Linked DNA regions of Homo sapiens: region 1 is linked to region 2. The links are contacts of gene promoters, found by promoter capture Hi-C in human tissues and cell types (Jung and others, 2019). All regions are on one chromosome and are shown on one strand. Each heading gives the region's core, a stretch centred on a gene start or on the middle of the fragment in contact. The rest is flanking DNA. Distances are from core to core; before and after follow the strand shown. Region 1 holds the start of CHMP1A (charged multivesicular body protein 1A). Region 2 holds the start of IL17C (interleukin 17C).

Region 1 (2,700 bases), core at 182-2,681, 1.0 Mb before region 2:
TTTGTAGAGACAGGGTCTCACTATGTTGCCCAAGCTGGTCTTGAACTCCTGGGCTCAAAAGATCCTCCTGCCTCGGCCAAATAACTGGGAGGACAGGTGTGAACTACCGCCCCAGGCAGCACCTCCGTTGTTTAAAATATTTAACGCTTCCAGCTCCACGTGGTAAAACTGATGGAAAACTTTGTATTCTAGCTTCTTCCTACTTTTGGGGCCTCATCTTCCCCACACACACCCAAAGGTCTGGCCACACTAGGCTGTTATAAAAGACACCTTTGTCGCACCCAGGTTCTACTCCTCGGTCACCCTCCGCAATGTACTTATCCCCACAGCCCTCGGAGAGCTACAGTCCAGCCTGGGACGGCCTCCCAATGCTCTGTTCCAGTGTGCGGAGGCTCAGGGATTCTCAGTGGCACCAAGATACCCAGCCCTCGAGGAGAACCTCAGGTGAGACACACGCACACTGCCCCAGCCCCTCGACCACCTGGTACGCACTTATCACTCGGGAACTGACCTACATTTTCATTAAACTTATGTTTTCAACTAAGATTTCTGGATATTTACCTCCTACATAAAGTTCCCAAAACAAACCAGTTTCATCTTTACGGCGCGTGCCTGCTACTAGTGTCCATCCGGTAGGGTCTTACAGTAGGCTCCTCACCCCAGCCCCAGATCCTCCAAGCCACTGACCTCGCTTCGCTCCCTCCCGCCGTCTCCTACCTTCCAGCGAAGCTGCCGGCGGCGGGTGCTTGGCTGTCCCGGCCCCCGGGTGGAGGCTGTCCACAGGCTTCTCCGACTCCCTGTCTGCCTGCCTGGCTTCCTGGGAATGCTTCTCCATCAACTTCTCCTTAGATTTTGGAACTGAATAGGTGGATCCCTTCTTTTGCTCCTCACCTGAAATATATGGATCATCCGTTAGACCCGGGACTTACCGAATGCAGGGCAGTGGGTCCCATCGTCTTCAGTCGCCTGCGTGGGTCCAGAATAAGCTGGCTTCAAGTCTCGAGTCTCCGCGTTTCCGTAACCGCCTCAGGCGGGAAACGCGCCGTCCGTGGCGGACTCGGCGGCAGGAACGGTTCGCACCGGGCCGAGCCTGGCGCCTGCGCTCACACCGCCCCGCCCAGCCCAGCCCCGCCCTGGGCCCGCGCCCAGGGGCGGAGACGCGGGGAGCCCAGCGCCTGCGCCTCCTTTACCTTTCCTGGGTTTCTCTTTGCTTTTGGAAAGGCCCATGGGTGAGCCCACCGCCCCCTCCGACGCAAGCCCGGGTCCCCACACCTCCGCGGCCGCGGAGCCGGGAGCGACTCACAAAAGGTCCTCGCGCCAGCGGCGTGCGTCACCATGGCGACCGCGCGCCGCGCAGCCGCGCCCCGCCCCTCTGGCGGGACCGGCCACCATCCTCTCGCGAGAGCATCCCGTGCGACCGGAAGTGGGGCGGCGACCCCGGAAGTCCCCGCCGGGTGCAGCTTGGTCGGTTCGATCGCCGCCGGGACCTGACACCGCCCGGAGTTGGCGTCCCTTCTCCCTCTCCGAGTGCTGCTCCTGTCATTGTGGCCATGGACGGTAAGAGGTCGCGGCCGTCCTCCGGGGACTCGCGCGCGGGGCGGGGCCGCTTCTCCCACTGGCGTGGGCTCCGCCCACCTGGGGCCGCGGGCAGGACTCAGGAGAGCTCGGGCCTCGACCGTCGATCCCCCGGGACCCCATCCCCAGGGCCTCGACCACCGACCTGGGACCCCTTTTCCCGGTCGTCGTCCCCCGATCCCCGACCCGGACCCCATCCCCAGGGCCTCGACCACCGACCTGGGACCCCTTTTCCCGAGCCTCGTCCCCCGATACCCGACCCGGAACCCCTTCCCCAGGGCCTAGACCACCAACCCGGGACCCCTTTTCCCGGGCCTCGACCCTCGATCCCCGACCCGGAACCCCTTCCCCAGGGCCTCTACCACCGACCCGGGACCCCTTCTCCCGGGCCTCGACCCCCGACCACCGACCGGGACCCTTCCCAGGCCCCCGACCCCCAACCCGAGATCCTTTACCCCGGGCCTCGACCCTCGACCCGGGACCCCTCCCCCCAGGCCTCGATCCCCGACCCCCGATTCGGGACCCCTTCCCCGGGGCCTCCATCCCCAAATCTCAACCCGGTATGCCTTCCCCGGGGCCTCGACCTCTGACCCCCAACCATGGACCCGGGACCTAGACTCCCGACCCAGGACCCCTTGCCCAGGGCCTGGACCCCCGACCACCGACCCAGGACCCTTTCCCCCGCCCCTGGCACTCCTCAGCGTCAGGCGCCCTTTCCCGCCAGCTCGGTAGGGGGGACTGTGCGATGCCTGTTCGGCCTTTCGGGACTTGGAATGTCGGGTCAGAGGGCACCAGAAAAAGTGACAGTTGCACCCCCTGCCCCAAACAGCATCACTGCAAATCAGAAGGACTCAGACAGAAAGCGCTCCCTGAGTGCCAGGCCCTGGTCACAGCAGCTCTTTGCGTCCATTCTCCATGTGGGGAAGCAGAGGTTTGAGCAGGAGCCAGCACAAGCGTTTCTGTGCTCAATGGGTCGCCCTAATTCTTACCTTCTACATCTGGGGCTAGCCGGCTGTGTGCTCAGGGATACCAAAGAACAGGAAGAATCTGGCAAAATGAAGTCCTATGTTTGCTGAAACATCGTTGGGCTGGTGTGATGGGCAGGCTTTTAAAAATACTTTTTGA
Region 2 (2,700 bases), core at 57-2,556:
GCCTCTGCACAGGCACTCGGCGAAGGCCAGCTTCTGTGGATAGCGGTCCTCATCCGTGTCCACACTGCGGGACGGGGTGCACAGTGAGTCTCTGGCCCTACCCTGTCCTCCTGGAGGCCCCTCTCCCCTCAGGGCCCCTCTCCGTGTACTCAGGATAGGACCTGAGGCAGCGAGGGCTGAGCCACACGGGCTTGGGGTGCAGTCGGGCTCACATGTGGTGGTAATCCACGTCTCCCCAGGGCCCTCCAAGAGCACAGAGCAGGGTCCGGAGGCCTCTAGGAGCCTCCCTTCCACTTCATCACCCAGCCCCACTTCTGCAGGAGCTCAGGTGACGGGCCCAGAATTTCCCCAGGGGACCCTGGCCACCTAGGACAGTGGGAGGCAGGGCACGGCCAGCCGCAAGCAGCAGCTCAGCCGTCCAGGTCAGGAGGGCCGGAGGGAGGGAGCTCAGGTGGCCACGCCCACTTGACAGGTGAGAACCACCAAGGCCCAGAGAGCTCTCCGGGCAGTCAGGGCCCCGCCAGGGGAGGGGCAGCCCCACGCCACAGCGGAATCCCCAGGTCCTCACCGGTATCTCCAGGGTGAGATGGAGCGCTGGTGGGTGTCTGCCTCCAACACCTCCTCCGGCCGCAGCACCGGGCACTGGGTCGTAGCTGAGGGCCTCTCGTGCCTCCCCCTGTGGCTTGCTGCCTCCAGGCTGGACACCAGGGCTACAGGCAAAGCCTGCCCCCACTTGGCACCTCGAGCCAGCAGGTGTGGGGGGGCCTGGCCGAGGGGCAGTTCCTCAGCCGAGTAGCAGTGTGGGGTACCGTGACTGTGGGGGTGCCCCCTGAGGGAGGGGTCATGGTGGGCCAGGCATGTGTGCAGCCAGGTCAGAAACAGGAGGCCGGGGAGGAGCTGGTGAAACAGGCAGGTGGGTGGTTAGGAGGTGCCCAGGGCAGGGGGCACCTCACTTCCACCTCAGCTTTCCTTGTTCCCAGCGGAAAGATGGAGTACAGCCCTCCCTCTATAGATGGGGAAACTGAAGCCCAGAGAGGCTAGCCCTTCAGCCCAAGACACCCAGCATGCCAGCGCTCCGAGGATCTGCAGCTGCCTCCCCTACCCCCAGACTGAGGGGTTTCCCAGACCCCATCCCAACACCCTCCTCCCAGGCTCAGAGAACCCCAGCCCTTCCATGCCAGGCTGCACATCCAAGCAGCATCCATCCGAGCGGCATGTGGAGAGGCTCACCGTCATGGTGGCGGCAGCGGGGCAGGCTGGGCTTGGAGCGGCCTGCACACCTGGCGGCAATCCCACAGGTGCACCTGGCCATGCACCTGGCAGCAGCCGCTCTTATACCTGAGGCCACACCTGGGGGAAATTCCGGCACCACTTCCTCCTCGGGAAGTGCCCAGCTGGGGCGCTTCTTCCTTCTCTGGTCCCCGCAGCCCCCGCCTGCTGTGCATCAGGACACAGACATGCAAGGAGGCCCCGGGAGGCGCTGTCCTGTTACCCCCCTCCCCCGAGAGAGACTCCGCCCAACCTGAGCACCTACACAGGGTGCTGCCTTGTCTGACATTCTCAAACTTTTTTTTTTTTTTTGAGACAGGGTCTTGCTGTCACCCGAGCTGGAGGGAAATGGTGCTGTCCCAGCTCACTGCAACCTCCACATCCCAGGTTCAAGCGATTCTCCTGCCTCAGGCTTCCGAGTAGCTGGGATTACAGGCACCCCCCACCATGCCTGGCTAATTTTTGTATTTTTAGTACAGACAGGGTTTTGCCATATCGGCCAGGCTGGTCTGAGGCTCCTGACCTCAAGTGATCTGCTCGCCTTGGCCTCCCAAAGTGCTGGGATTACAGGAGTGAGCCACTGCGCCCAGCCTTGAACCTCCTATAAGAGGGTTTCTGCTTGCGTATCCGTCAGCACCTTGCTGATTCAACTTGTAGGTTTTCATCTGGACCTGATGGTGGCGGGGCGCTTTTGCACCCTATACAGTTCTTCTCCGTCTGCTGCTGGTGGGTGCCAAGGGTGGTTCAGTGTTTTAGCTGAGATGGTCAAGATCAGGTGAGGCTCACGTGCCCCCTTCACCCAGGTGGGAGAGGTCCCGGAGATGGGGGAGGCAGGCACGTCTTCAGGTCTCTGTTGGGTTTCTGTGTTGTTTTTTTTTTTGTTGTTTTTTTGAGGCGGAGTCTGACTCTGTCGCCCAGGCGGGGAGTACAGTGGTGCGATCTCGGCTCACTACAAGCTCAGCTTCCTGGGTTCACGCCATTCTCCTGCCTCAGCCTGCCGGGTAGCTGGGACTACAGGCGCCCGCCACCACACCTGGCTAATTTTTTTGTATTTTTAGTAGAGACGGGGTTTCACCATGTTAGCCAGGATGGTCTCGATCTCCTGACCTCGTGATCTGCCCACCTCGGCCTCGCAAAGTGCTGGGATCACAGGCATGAGTCACTGCACCCGGCCTGGGCTTCTGTGGTTTTATTGAGAAAAAAGTTCAAGCTAAAAAGTCTGAGTTGGAGGTGTGAGGAGTGAGGTGTGAGGTGTGAATGAGGCATGAGGCGTGAGGCGTGAGGTGTGAGGTGTGACCAGCACACACAGGAAGCTTTATGTAAGCGGGGCCGGGAGCTGCCTTTGGCCTCCTTGATCGGTGAGGCTGGCTGGGGGTGGGGGCGCTGGAGGTGCCTTTGTTTCCCCGGAAAGGGACAGCTGCAGCCAGAACT

What was found. Contacts are between HindIII fragments. The study calls those that stand out against the background at their distance.
Region 1: the fragment with the promoter of CHMP1A here is called in contact with the fragment with the promoter of IL17C in region 2 in 1 of the 25 tissues and cell types used here (stomach).

Annotation. Positions count from the first base shown.
Region 1 is chr16:89,656,439-89,659,138 of GRCh38, reverse strand. CHMP1A (charged multivesicular body protein 1A) reads left to right here and starts at 1,431. Exons shown (of 7, transcript NM_002768.5): 1 at 1,431-1,557. The coding sequence starts at 1,551. SPATA33 (spermatogenesis associated 33) reads right to left here and starts at 1,303. Exons shown (of 3, transcript NM_001271907.2): 1 at 1,191-1,303; 2 at 718-891. The coding sequence starts at 1,227. RefSeq lists an enhancer at 1,150-1,319 and silencers at 1,035-1,424, 1,645-1,704. The HindIII fragment of the contact is 33,607 bases long and covers 1-2,700 here.
Region 2 is chr16:88,637,178-88,639,877 of GRCh38, reverse strand. It overlaps IL17C (interleukin 17C), which reads right to left and starts at 1,306. Exons shown (of 3, transcript NM_013278.4): 1 at 1,231-1,306; 2 at 569-897; 3 at 1-64. The coding sequence starts at 1,236. LOC124903755 (a long non-coding RNA gene) reads right to left here. Exons shown (of 2, transcript XR_007065181.1): 2 at 2,444-2,700. The HindIII fragment of the contact is 16,303 bases long and covers 1-2,700 here.